Linked DNA regions of Homo sapiens: regions 1, 2, 4 and 5 are each linked to region 3. The links are contacts of gene promoters, found by promoter capture Hi-C in blood cells and fetal thymus (Javierre and others, 2016). All regions are on one chromosome and are shown on one strand. The core of a region is centred on a gene start or on the middle of the fragment in contact, and the rest is flanking DNA. Distances in the headings are between cores, read along the strand shown.

What was found. The method cuts DNA at HindIII sites, captures the fragments that hold promoters and counts their contacts. A CHiCAGO score of 5 or more calls a contact.
Region 1: a fragment that was not itself captured here is called in contact with the fragment with the promoter of TEX35 in region 3 in 2 of 17 cell types (total B cells and naive B cells); the score reaches 9.2 in total B cells.
Region 2: a contact is called between a fragment that was not itself captured here and the fragment with the promoter of TEX35 in region 3, in 1 of 17 cell types (naive B cells). The highest score is 7.5, in naive B cells.
Region 4: a contact is called between a fragment that was not itself captured here and the fragment with the promoter of TEX35 in region 3, in 2 of 17 cell types (total B cells and naive B cells). The highest score is 8.7, in total B cells.
Region 5: a contact is called between the fragment with the promoter of ANGPTL1 here and the fragment with the promoter of TEX35 in region 3, in 2 of 17 cell types (naive B cells and total B cells). The highest score is 8.6, in naive B cells.

What each region holds. Positions count from the first base shown.
Region 1 is chr1:178,962,853-178,965,595 of GRCh38, forward strand. No RefSeq gene overlaps it. Among named protein-coding and RNA genes, the nearest start is that of FAM20B, 62 kb to the right of the region's middle. The HindIII fragment of the contact is 1,418 bases long and covers 662-2,079 here.
Region 2 is chr1:178,931,621-178,934,391 of GRCh38, forward strand. No RefSeq gene overlaps it. Among named protein-coding and RNA genes, the nearest start is that of ANGPTL1, 62 kb to the left of the region's middle. The HindIII fragment of the contact is 283 bases long and covers 1,353-1,635 here.
Region 3 is chr1:178,511,692-178,514,391 of GRCh38, forward strand. It overlaps TEX35 (testis expressed 35), which reads left to right and starts at 1,418. Exons shown (of 9, transcript NM_032126.5): 1 at 1,418-1,536; 2 at 2,336-2,386. The coding sequence starts at 1,498. LOC101928866 (a long non-coding RNA gene) reads right to left here and starts at 1,359. Exons shown (of 6, transcript XR_001738307.2): 1 at 951-1,359; 2 at 385-591. The HindIII fragment of the contact is 3,272 bases long and covers 788-2,700 here.
Region 4 is chr1:178,980,276-178,983,106 of GRCh38, forward strand. No RefSeq gene overlaps it. Among named protein-coding and RNA genes, the nearest start is that of FAM20B, 44 kb to the right of the region's middle. The HindIII fragment of the contact is 4,309 bases long and covers 1-2,831 here.
Region 5 is chr1:178,869,528-178,872,377 of GRCh38, forward strand. ANGPTL1 (angiopoietin like 1) reads right to left here and starts at 1,550. Exons shown (of 6, transcript NM_004673.4): 1 at 1,214-1,550. The region is part of intron 8 of RALGPS2 (Ral GEF with PH domain and SH3 binding motif 2); the gene reads left to right. The HindIII fragment of the contact is 10,209 bases long and covers 1-2,850 here.

The DNA.
Region 1 (2,743 bases), core at 121-2,620, 450 kb after region 3:
TTATTTTATTTTATTTATTTATTTTTGAGGCAGAGTCTCATTCTGTCGCGAGGCCCAGGCTGGAGTGTAATAGCATGATCTTGGCTCACTGCAACCTCCCCTCCTGGGTTCTGGCAATTCTTGTGCCTCAGCCTCCTGAGTAGCTGGGATTACAGGCATGCATCACCACAACCAGCTAATTTTTATATTTTTAGTACAGACAGGGTTTCACCACGCTGGCCAGGCTGGTCTCGAATCACTGACCTCAAGTGATCTTCCCGCCTAGGCCTCCCAAAGTGCTGGGATTATAGCCATGAGCCACCACACCCACCCTAGGCTACAGTTTTAAATAGGATGGTCAGGGTGGGCCCCATTGAGAAGGTGAAATTTGAGCAAAGACTTGAAGGAAGTGAAAGGGTGAGCCACACCAATATCTGGAGGAAGAGTGTTCTAGATGCAGGGGACAGCCTGTGCAAAGCCCAAAGCCTGGCGTATTCCACGAGCGGTGGGGAGGGAGGGAGGAAAGGCAAGCATTTGAGAGTGAGAGAGAGGCCAGGCCCAGCAGGACTTCATAGCTGAGGACGTGGGCTTCTACCCTGATGTGCTGAAGGGCCACTGGAGAGTTCTGACTTAAGGTTTAAAGGGATAACTGGCTGCTGTGTGGAGAACAGACTGCAGGGGAAGCTTGGAAACCAGTTAGGAGAGAAATGCTCGTTCAGCCATTCTCTGTGGAAAGAACACACATGACCCAATTCTCTTTGGCAGGTTTGTTTGTTAACCCTGAAATGGCTGGCACTTGGTCAGCCTTGCTGGCCTCTCCATGCCAGGCTGTCTGTAGGCACAGTCTTGGGCAAATGTGCTCTGGCTGTGGGGTCAGGATGTATTCTGTGCTACTCATGGGTGAGGGGTGGCTAGGGGGATGTTGCAGGGTAAGGACATTGTTAGTTTAAAGCCTTTTGAAAAGAAATGTTTCTTACTGCTTTTTTTTTTTTTTTTTTTTTTGAGACGGAGTCTCGCTCTGTCGCCCAGGCTGGAGTGCAGTGGCACAATCTCGGCTCACTGGAAGCTCTGCCTCCCGGGTTCACACCATTCTCCTGCCTCAGCCTCCCAAGTAGCTGGGACTACAGGCGCCCACCACCACGCCCAGCTAATTTTTTGTATTTTTAGTAAAGACAGGGTTTCATCGTGTTAGCCAGTATGGTCTCGATCTCCTGACCTTGTGATCCGCCCGTCTTGGCCTCCCAAAGTGCTGGGATTACAGGCGTTAGCCACCACGCCCAGCCTCTTACTCCTCTTATTTTCTGCCTGGATTTAAATCAGACACCTCCCCTAGCAAAAACAAAAAACTCCACTTTCTCCTGGAAACCCTATTCCCTGTCCTCAGCAACAGAAGCCCAAGACCTATTGAGTCACATGGCAATGTCATAACCTGCATCTTATTTAGGATGAGAAAGAATCCCTGCGCAGAGAGGGTGGCCTGTGTCCACTGGCCCTCAATGAATATGTATTTATTGCTTCTTCCTAAGGGGAGTGTGAAGGGAGGAGAAGGACGTGGGCTAGAAGCCTGGCTCAGTGTCTAGTCCTGGTTCTGCCACTCATAATAACTGGCCTGGCTTTTGTAGAACACTTTCAAATGCAGGATCTCACTCGAGGCTCACAATAGCACTCTGAAAGAGGTGATGCTGTTATCCTCATCTCAAGAAGCTAGGTGACGTGACACCTGGTAAGTGAGGGAGGCGAGATTTAAACCAGGTTTCCTGCCTCTAAAGCCTAGGATTGTTTCACCACATCACACAGCCACTAGGAGCACCCCCACCCCGCAACATAACCTGAGTTACTCCTCCCAGTGAGCCCCTCCCCTGTGAATCTGGGCTGGCCCTGTGACCAGTTTTTGACCAAAAGAACTTAGTGGAAATGATATAATGTAACTTCTGAGACTGGGCCTTAAGAGATTCACAGCTTCTTATAAGTCTTTGTCAGTTGAAATGTTCCCTCTTGAAAACATGCTGTGAGGTAAGAAATGTAACCATCCCATGACCATCAATCTGAGAGGAAGTTCAAGCCACATGGAGGGGGAGAGGCTACCTGCTGGAGCACCGAAGCTTCAGCCATGCAAATGAAGCCTTCTAGGCCAGCCAAGCCACCAGCCAAATACAGCCAAGTAAATGGCCCCAGCCAATAACGTGGAGAAGAAGAGCCACCCAGCTGAGCCCTGCCTGAATCCCTGACCCACAGAATCATGAGAAAATAAAATGATTATTGCTTTAAGCCACTAAATGTTGGGGTGGCTTGTTACGCAACAATATAAATGATCACAACCCCTTCATATGGGAAGAGATGAGCAATAGTCAACTTAATTCCTTCCTTCCCCCTCTCTCCCCTTCTTCCTTCTCTCCTTCCTTCTTTCCCTCCACAAATGTTTGTTAAGCACCTACAACATGCCAGGCGCTGTGCTAGATGCTGATACAAAAATGAACAAGGCAGTCACTGCCCTTCAGGAGCCTAATATCTAGTAGGAGAGGCCCTGTGTACACACACGTATACAACAAACAGGATCATGAGAAATACAAAGCACTCAGGGGTACTCAGTTTCACCGAACACAGGTCAGTAGAGGCTTCGCGAAGAAGATGCTACTTGTTGTGTGGCAGGCACTGTGCTGAGAGTCAGTTATCTGAACTGTGAGCTCTCCTTCACTCCACCCTCAGCTCAGCAGTGCAAGCTACACTTCCATAAACATGCCTTCTGTATCATCACATGAGTTAT
Region 2 (2,771 bases), core at 244-2,743, 420 kb after region 3:
AGGAGGGAAAAAGAGGAAGAAGAAAGGGGGAAAAACATCAGCCACCTTTAAGAATTTTACATGTGCTGGTAAGAAATAATATAGCTTAAAAAATAGATTTCTGCTTGTGTAGCCCAATTTATTAATTTTTAAAACTATGATCAGATGGTATTGATTAGTGGTCTCAAAATAAGGGAGAGAAACACCTATTTCTTGTGTTATTTTTTATTAAAGCAGGGAACAAATGGGACCTTCACAGTCCTTAAAGATGAAATACCCCCAAACCAAACCAGAGTTCACTGGCAAAGCAAAGCAGTGTCCTTACATCTCGGAGGGCCCTGACCCGCCTCTGTCCCGAACCCCACCAGCAGCGGCTCTGCTAGAAAGGGAACATTTTGTTCCTTTATTGTGGTAAACCAGACCCAGGGCCCCGCTGGTTCTCAAGTCAGCTGTGAAGCTGACACACTGCCTCTCAGGGTCAGTTTGGCCCCCACAGCAGGCCCTGGGGAAGCAGCCACGCCCTCAGCTCCCTTGGGGCCCTGTCTTCCATTCCTTAACAGGACCAGCTTCTTCAGAGACTCTGGACTCTCATAAACGTTGAAGCCAGATTGTTTCCCTCTTTGCTTTTGTTTTGATGTATTTTTAAATAATTAGGCTTTTACTCTCAAGTATTTTCATTCTCCATCACTGGCTGAGGGGCAGCTCTCACACCACACTAGGGCAAGGCATGCTACTATGGTATCCAGTAAACAGTTGCCAAACAAAGTCAAAAGTTCTCTTTGGCCAAAGCCAAAATCAAGTTCTCTTTTGTACTTGTTGTTCTTCCATCTGCCCTGAGCTATGTCATAGCTGTCAAAATATGTCACCCCCTGCACCTCCGTGCAGGGTTTAAGAAAAGCAGCTCCTTGGACTTTTGCCAGCGACTTTCTTGCAACATCTTAATTATCCATTTTTTGCTTAGCAAGTAAGTCTAGAAAGAACTGCTTCTTTTATTCTTGGAAAGTAAGTACTTGGGAATGTTCAATGAAAACCAGTATGTGCTGAACTCCTGCTCTGTGCTAGGTTCTGGGGAAGGGGAGGCAGTCCCTGACCAAGGGGATCTCACAGTCAGTGAGGAGAGTGTCCCCTGAGGTCGCTGGGAAGAAGCAACACATTTCCCTGTCCAGTGGCAACTACCTCCTCATCACCTAATCCCTGCGCCCGGAGCACAAACTCATCCTAAGCAAAGGCAACTGAGCAGCTGTTTTCCTGTTCACCCCACCTCAGGTCCTCACTACTTTCCTACCGATACCATTCTAAGTTCCCAACGCATTTTGTGAAAGTAAGTCAGTTTGATTCATCATATAGTCATTGGTTCTGATGTTGTGGTTCTAAGCTTATTTTATACATTGTTATCTAATTTATTCTTTCTTAACAACCCTGTATAGTAGAGATACTTCTTCTTGAATTACAACCAGAAAATTTGGAGAGGTTGAAGAACTTGCCTACAGTCACCCAGTAAGGAGGTGGAGCCAGGATTCAAACTCTGGTCTGATTCTCGGCCCTGGTGGACACTGGCTTTCAGAGCTGTAACTTGCAGTTTTGGTGCCCAGAACCTGCAGCACAAAAGCTCCGCAAATGACTTTGTGATTTATTATGAAACTCAAAGAAAGAACAAGCTTCCTACTTTAATTTTCCTTGCTAATGACAGTTTTCAGCTGAAGAAATCCATGTGCTGTCAACATGTAAATATAACCTTTTTTTTTTTCCAATGTCTGTTCCCGGGACAGAGCCTCCCAGTAGGCCTTGCACTGTGCTGCATGTGGTCCCTGGAGTTTTACAGCCTCACTACAGACACAAAACAGAGTGGTTAACACAAGCAATCCTGAATTGCATAAATGTGCTGGATGCCCATGCTAGACTAAGAAAGTTCTTCGTATTCAGGAGAAACACTGTGGCCCTGAGAGGCCAGGGAAGGCCACGTGGAAGAGGAGAGTCCATGGGTGGGTAGGATTTAGGACCAGGGGAGAAGAATTGCAAGCAAGAGCTGGAAATATACAGTTGAGGCTGGGAAGAGCTCACACTGAGAAGTGGCAACACATAAAGTTGGAAAAGTAGGTTGGAGCCAAATTGCTCAGGATTTTAAGTGCCAGAAGGAGGAATTGGAGAATGGAAGCTGGGAGACCAGGCAGGAAACAGCTGTTCTCCAGGAGAGAGAGAGCAAGGGTCTGTCCCAAAGTGGGAGCACAGGTAGGAAACAATTGAGAGGCATTTTGAAGGATGAAGGCTCCTCTGTCTCCTGTGCCCAGGAGCCCTGCCCTCTGCTAGGCTCTGGGACTAGTAATGCTGATTAACTGATCTGCCAGTGGATGCATTGGCCCTCCCTGATGACCCGGCACCCTTCTTGGAGAAGAGTGGGACTCTGGCCCCCTATCCCTCCATGTTCAATTGCCCACATCACTCAACTCTTCCTGTCCACCACACTTACCCTCCCAAGTGTATTTCCTCATCTGCAAAAACAGCATGAGAAAGCTCCTCCTTCCTAAGTTTATTGTGAGGTTGAATAAGGTCATGCGTGGAAGATGCAAAGCACAGGGCCTGGCGCTTGTAACCGCTCAGCAGATGGGAACCGCCAGCATAAATATTCTGCACCCTTGGTCAGCTGGGACCCATTATTGAGAGTGGCTATTCTCGTCTCTCTCTATGAAATGTTAGACACTAGCAGACAGCTGAAGGTGAAATCAAGCAAGTTTGAACTGTGGTCTCTCTCTGGGGCTCCTTGTCAGGTAAGTTGGACATAAGCAACTTCCTAA
Region 3 (2,700 bases), core at 168-2,667:
TTTAACAACTGCTCAGCCAAGCAAGGGAAGCTCTACTGCAGGTCCAGGAGGCCCCCAAGCCAAAATTAGCAGAAGGAGGTGGGGCACATTTTCACGGGGCTGGTGGATGTTGAGATGGAGTCAGTCATTTTCACTGTAATTCCCTTAGAGGAAGGGCATTCCTACCACGAGGCCATCAGATCTGAGAGGGCTGAATTAAAAGGTCCAAGGAAACTGAAAAGTTCCAGCCCCTCATTTATAAGTGGGGAAAGTGAAGCCTGGGAAGCTGGTGACCACCCCCAACTCCCTCTCCTTCCGCTGATGCAGTGGCAGACACATTCTCCTCTGGCTATGGTGGAGTAAGACCCACAGCTGTCACCAGTGTCAGGGCTGGGAAATCACCACCTAGGAAATGCATCAGAAGTGCTGCAGGTGGCTCCAGAAGTTCCAGTGGCCTCCAGGAAGGATAGTCCCAAGCAGGTGTGTGAAATGGGAGGGTAAGTGTGGTCAGTAGTGGCCTGCATGGGGATGTCATTCACATGCAATTTGCATTAGTTCCTGTACTCCTGTGCTGTCTGTCCTCAGATGTCCATGTTGGCCTTTTCTGTGCAACTAGCAGTTGAAATGAGAGGGAAGAAGGAAGTGAATGACCAGTGATAAGAGGAAAAGAGAAATCAATTTCACCAACCCAGATCCCCAGTGATTTTTTATCCCATGGGGTGCCATGTTCCTCTGACTGTCTACTTTAGCACAAACTATGGCTACCCGCAGAATGGCCTTTTCTTTAGTATTCTTCATTTGCCCGAAAAGCTTCTTATCTTTAGCTTCTTGTCCCAACCCTCTTCCCGGATGATAGAAGAACTAGGAAAAGAGAATTTTTAGGTGGGCAGGGGTCTGGGGGTGGTTGTGGGACAGGGGCAGTGTGAGGTCAGAGGCATCAGAAACCATCCTGCTGAGACTGGCTACCCCACCTCATACAGAGTAACCCAGGTTAAGTGAGACGGTGCATGCACGTTGAACCAGAGAGACTTCATGGCATCCTCCAGCCCAAGGTGGCTTCCGGTCCGAGGTGGGGTCGGTTCGCGCGAGGAGCGCACAGCAGAGGACATGGGCTGTGCGCTCAGAGGAGGAGCTGGCTGTCCCTGGAGGACGTCCTTCTGAGTCAGTAGGTGAGTCCTGCTGCAGAAGGAGCCACTGCTTCTGACGCGTGCCTTGCACTTCGACCGTAGCAGGCCATGATCCTCCTCAGTGTGGACTTTCCTTCTGTTGCAAGAGGGAGGCCTGGTGGGACTCTGAAACCTGGCCTGAACCCCTCATCTCAGTGGCCGAAGCCCCCCAGGCCTGAAGCTGTGGTGACGCTCTGGACCACCATGTGGGTCCTGGCATTGTGACCTCAGCTGTTCCGTACACAAAGGGGTGGTCACCCTGCCCTCACCTTGACCTGTAAGTTGCCTAGGACAGTGGCCTGGTCCCAGGGGCTGTTGTGGGGAGTTGAAGAACACCCTGGCCTCCTCCATCATGTCGGCCAAGAGGGCAGAATTGAAGAAAACACATCTGGTAAAAGAGAGACATTGCTGGACAGTGTGGGTCCTCTCTGAGCTCCTACTGAATGGAGATGGTGTCGGGGCAAGGGATACAGAGAATGCTCGCATGAATCTCTGGTTTTTCTTTCTCTGTACTGAGCATAAAGCAGCCTCTCAGTCTGGAAGGGGTGTGGGATTAATCCCTAGCCTTGGGGGTGGGAAGGAAAGAGGCCTCTGCTGCCTCCCTCTGGGGATGAGGAGCACTGCCAAGGGAGCACTCCCTACTCCAAGACCACTCATGGTTCCACGGCCCATGCCAGGCCTGCCAGGCCCACATCTAACCAGCAGGGCTAAGGCTCAGAATAACCTTATTAGATAAATATAATCATCACGTCGATTTTATAGATGAGGAAATGGGGGCTCAGAGAGGCTAAGCAACTCACCCAAAATAACAGAGATAGTAGAGAGGTCAGCTGAGACTATAGTGCAAATCTGCCTATGGCCAAAGCCCTTGCTCTGGAAACAACACTTCCGGGGCTTGCTTCTAGTTATCTTAAAGTGCTTTCTCCACGCTGGCGCCTCCAGCAGGGAGAGGGCTGCCTGCCAAATAGGCAGACACACGCCCATAGGAAGAGGACAGCACGACAAGATGTGATTTGTTAGGAATCGGATCCGGGTGCTGCGGGGTCTGTGAGCCTGAGCTCAAGCCAGTTGGACAGGCAGGGTTGCATGGTTGTGGGGGGCAGGGGGCAGGGTTCCCGTGCAAGGGCCAGATGTTCTCCTCCCCAATCCTGATGTCTGCCAGCCTGAATCTCAGTCTCCTCTTTTTGCAGAGCAAGAACTACAAGGCAGTTTGCCTGGAATTGAAGCCAGAGCCGACCAAAGTAAGAAGCCCTTTTGAGGCCATGCAGGCAGCCAGGCCTGAGATCCATGGGGAAGTGACCAGGAGTCAGGGGTCATTTGCTGATCCTAGTGGCCAAGATTTGTCCCAGGTGCTGGGGGATGCACTGAGAGTTCTTGCTCTCATAGAACTTCACACTGTAACCAATCAGATACATAAACGAACAAGGACTCATTCAGCAGTGTTACCTGCTCTGCTGGGAATCAAGACAGGGAGACATGTCTGAGTGGCTGCCGTGGAGTGGGTGGTAGGGAAAGGCCTTCCTTTGAGCTGAGAGCTGAAGGACAAGACTCTGGC
Region 4 (2,831 bases), core at 2-2,501, 470 kb after region 3:
AAAGAAGTCCCAAATAAATAAAATTAGAAATGATAAAGGAGACATTACAACTGATATCACAGAAATACAAACGATCGGCCAGGTGCTGTGGCTCATGCCTGTAATCCCAGCACTTTGGGAGGCCGAGGCAGGTGGCTCACTTGAGGTCAGGAGTTTGTGACCAGCCCAGCCAACATGGTGAATCCCTGTCTCTACTAAAAATACAACAAATTGGCTGAGTGTGGTGGCAGGCGCCTGTAATCCCAGCTACTTGGGAGGCTGAGGCATGAGAATCACTTGAACCCAGGAGGGAGAAGTTGCAGTGAGTCAAGATCCTACCACTGCACTCTAGTCTAGGTGACAGAGCAAAACTCTGTCTCAAAAAGAAAAAGAAAAAAGTACAAAAGATCTTTAGAGACTATTATGAAAAATTATATGCTAACAAATTAGAAAACCTAGAGGACATGGATAAATTCCTAGACACATATAACCTACCAAAATTGAACCAGGAAGAAATAGACCTGAAAAGACCAATAACAAGTAATGAGATTGAATCAGTAATAAAAAGTTTCCCAGCAAAAAAACCCAGGACCAGATAGCTTTATTGCAAAATTCTACCAATTTTTATTAAATTTTTTTAGAAACATGATCTCACTCTGTCACTCAGTCTGGAGTACAGTCGTGTGATCATAGCTCACTGCAGCCTCAAACTCAGGCTCAAGTGATTCTCCCACATCAGCCTCCTGAGTCACTAGGACTATAGGTGCATACCATAATGCCCAGCTAATTATTTTTTTGTAGACACAGGGTCTTGTTATGTTGCCCAGGCTGGTCTCCAGCTCCTGGCCTCAAGCAACCCTCCCACCTCAACCTCCCAAAATGCTGGGACTACAGATCTGAGCCACTGCACTCAGCCTACAAATCATTTGAAAAAGATTTAACACCAATTCTTCTCAAGTTATTCCAAAAAGTGAAGAGGAGGGAATTCTTCCTAACTCATGCTATGAGACCAGCATTGCCCTGATACCAAAACCAGACAAGACTACAACAACAAAAGAAAACTTCAGGCCACCATTCTTTATGAACATAAATTCAAACTTTTTAACAAATTACTGCCAAATCAAGTTCAACAGCACATCAAAAAGATAATACACATGATGAAGTGGGATTTATCCCAAGGATGCAAGGATGTTTCAACATACACAAAGCAATAAATGTGATGTATCACATTAACAGAATGAAGGATAAAAACCATATAATCATCTCAATAGACACAGAAATAGCATGTAATAAAATTTAACATTCCTTCATGATAAAATTCTCAACAGATTAGGCACAGAAGGAACACACTTCAACATAATAAAGGTTATATATGACAAACCCACAACTAACATCATACTAAATAGGGAAAGGTTGAAACCCCTTCCTCTAAAAACTGGAACAAGACAAGGATGTCCATTTTCACCATCCCTATTTAACATAGTATTGGGAGTCTTAGCCAGAGCAACTAGGAAGAAAAAGAAAGGACATCCAAATTTGGAAAGAGAAAATCAAATTGTCCCTTATTGCAGATGACATAACCTTATATATAGAAAAGCCTAGACTCCACCAAAAACTGTTACGACTAATAAACAAATTCAGTAAAGTTGCAGGATACAAAATAAACATATAAAAATCAGTAGTGTTTCTATACAGCAATAATAAATGAACTGAAAAAGCAAGAAATGAACCCCATTTACAATAGCTAAAAAAAAAAAAGGAATAAACTTAACCAAGGATGCAAAAGACCTTCACAATGAAAACTAGAGAACACTGATAAAAGAAACTGAAGAAGACACAAACAAATGAAAATACATCCCATGCTCATGGATTGGAAAAATTAATATTATCAAAATGACTAAAGCAATTTACAGGTTCAATGTAATCTCTATCAACATACCAGACATTCTTCATGGGAATAGAAAAACAATCCTAAAATACATATGGAACCACAAAAGACCTCAAATAGCTAAAGCAATATATATAGAAAAAAAAATAGCAGGAGGCATCATACTACCTGACTTCAAAATACACGACAAAGCTATAGAGGTATAGTAACCAAAACAGCATAGTATTGGTATAAAAACAGACACATAGAACAATGGAACAGAATAGAGAATCCAGAAATCCACATATTTAAAGCCAACTAATTTTTGACAAAGGCACCAAGAACATACATTGGGAAAAGGACACCTTCTTCAATAAATGGTGCTGGGAAATATTGAAGAAGGACACCTTCTTCAAAAAACGGTGCTGGGAACTATATGCAGAAGAATGAAACTAGACCCTTATTCTCACCATATACAAAAATCAACCCAAAATGGATTAAAGACTGAAAAGTAAGACCCAAAACTATAAAAACGCTAGAAGAAAACATAAGGAAAATGTGCTTCAGCCCATTGGTCTAAGCAAAGATTTTATGTCTAAGGCTTCAAAAGCACAGCTAAAGAAAATAGATAAATGAGACTATATTAAACTAAAAACCTTCTCCCCAGCAAAGGAAACAATCAAGAGAGTGAAGAGACAACCTACAGAATGGGAGAAAATATGTGCAAGCTACTCATTTCGCAAGGGATAACATCTAGAATATACCAGGAACTCAACACTAAAAAAAAAAAAAAACCACTAAAAAGTGGAGAAAGAATCTAGAATTATAGACATTCCTCAAAAGAAAATATACAAATGACCAAAGAATATGTATTGAATAGCAGGAGGCATCATACTACTGATGAATACTATTGAATATGAAAAAAATGCTCAATATCGACCAGGTGCAGTGGCTCACACCTGTAATCCCACCACTTTGGGAGGCC
Region 5 (2,850 bases), core at 300-2,799, 360 kb after region 3:
AGTCCTGCACTTCCCATAGCATGCAACAACAAAAAAGAGAGATGACAGTATTTCAGATCCACTGTTGCTTGGAAATTTTGTTAGAATTTCTTGTAAAATATGTGTTTAACAGAAATCCTGCCAGCATTTACAGTTTTAAATCTTTAAGGAAAGGACACAAAAGCAAAGTTGGAAAAAATTTTAGCTTTACCATTATTTGCTTGTTCAAGATTCTTAACCATTAATATCTTTAATTTTTACAAGGCTAAAGGAGCCCCAAATCTAACAAACTTAAGTGTCTTTGGTTTAAGGCATACTATTGGTAACGAGTAATTTTATCTTTAATAGTTTTTATAATGCATGTAAAAAAAGCTCCCAGATAGAATATTGAAGGAAACCTCTTATGTGTGCTTAACAAAATTATTTCTACCTAAAATATTACATATTTTTGGCCTTTTAGTCATGAATTTAATTACATCTTCTGGGTTCTTATTTTCTATTGTTAATACCACTTACATAATGCTTTTGTGTGTATATCAATAACTTAGCTTTTCCAAGTGATTCCATTTGTAGCAAGTTTAATTTCTGTCATCCAAATTAAATTACTATTACATGTAAGCCTGGAAAGCTATTTAAAATTTTGAGTTGGAACAAGAAATGCCATAGATTAATCTTAAATCTGTACAAGAATTTCTGCTTAATATTTGGTTATACTGTAATTGAGATTTTGTTGCAAAGACTTTCAACTATTTTTGTATCTTAGCTTTGTTTTATGACTACACTGAGAAATCCAACAGTTTATGTATATCTTCAGCACACACACTGTGGCTGCAGGAAGAGAAACTAATTGTGTTCACGACTATTTAGTTTGTATTCCTTTGTTTTTAATCATTGTGCTGTAAGCCTTATACATTTAATCTGTTACTTGTTAAAATTTCTTTCTACTGTCACTAAAGCACTTGTTTTCAGAAACCCAGCATGGCATGCATGTATCAGTCTGTAATCATATACACTAAACATCATTAAATTGAACCTCAAATAATGCATTAACCATTGCACAGTACTTAATGTTTTTATGTCAAGTTGCAAGATAAAACCTTTTTCAGATGAGATAAACTGTAGTATATTCCAAAGGTCTTTGTTTAGTAAAAGATTCTGAAATTTCTACTACAAATATAAAATAGTTATGCATTTGCTATACATAATATTTTTAAATAAAAGAAATATTAAATACCTTTTTGTGTCTGTTGATTCAGTGAATCCAGAAACTTGCTGCCCTTATTCTTGATTTTAAAAATCAGTGTAGAAGTTTGTTCATCTGTGACTTTAATGGCAGCTGCATTTTTGTTTTGGACCGTTGAATCCAAGCTGTAAGAAGGAACTTCTTTTTCCTTTTACAATACTAATCAATTGAATTTGACAAGCCACCTATGTAATTTTAAGTAGTATAGTGGAAGTTCTGGTCTGTGGGCCGTCTTTAATCCAGCAGAGAAAGCGTTGTGGCTTTGCTCTGTCTGCCACATGGAGAAATGCAGTAACCAGCTGCAGCTGACCCAGATTGTATATACAGTACCCCTGAATAGTGATTCCCTCTTTCTCAGTAGACTCAAGTTCAGCCCACATATTACATCACCAAAAATTGCTGGAGACTGGGGGCGGGAATCTCCTTAGGATTTCCTCTTTGTAGCCTTAAATAGGGGGGTGGGATCAGCAGGAGGTTGAATAGTTTTGAACAAGGAGAGATTGTGTGCAGGTTGAAGGAAGGGCACCATCTGGAAACAAACTATCATAGTTCAGCGGGCAATTATAAAACAAACATTTTAGTCTGCTGGCCAGAGATCTTTTAAGTTGAATACCGAAAAAAAAAATAGTGCTCCACTTCACTTAGAAGTAGTTGCAGGCTGATGAGTTTGGTTTTTGTTAACAAAGAACAAGAGCTAGACTTTGTCAGGAGGCAGCCACCTAAATAATGTAATAAATACTCTTTATAGCCTAGAAGAATTTGTAAACATTTTACTAAGTTGCTAATGAAGGTTTTAAACTTACAAGAAACTTGATGTTGTTGTAGTATGTTATGTCTTACTGTGTAATGTGTCTTAAGATAAAACAGCCTTTATATATAATTACCAAACATAAGTGAAATTCTTTCAGATGCTTAAGACTTTTAAATATTACATTCTGGTGTTACATAATGTCATATCCTCCTATTCTACAAAATGACCTCTCCTCTCTGTAAAAGGTCATTCTTGTTATTAATTGATGTGGTGTGGTTTAAAAACAAACATAACCCTGAACTGAGTAAAAAACAAGGAAGCTCTGACTCTATGCCAGCTATGTGAACTTAGACAAATCACTTTACCTGCCTCTGGCAAGGTTCTTCTGCTATGAAATAAGGTGGTGGAAGAAATGAATAAGTGTTGAGTACAACTATACTATTGTATTTCATTAATTGAAGAAATGTTAAATAACTCAGTAGCTGAAGAAACACAAACTTAGGCTTAAGTAACTTAGCTTAGCACTTAAGTACTAAGTAGTGGAACTGGGATTTGAATCTAATGCCAAAGCATTATGCCACACTCTCTGTCATTGATTACCTAGTTGCTGTAAGCTGCTTCTAGATAAAACTTTTGGGCTTTCTCTACATACCTGTGCTTTCCCTTCCTTATTGCTGTAGCTTGTGCTGTGTTTCTCTTTCTGTTAGGCCACACTGTTGATCCACATCCTTTATTTAAAGTCTGAGCTTATTTTCTACCTCTTTCACAGAATCATTTATTTGAATTCCTATGCCATATATAGGTATACCAGAGGTTGCAAACACAAGGGCCTAGAAAGGCAAATGCTCACAAGAAGAATGGAGCAGGTAATATAAAT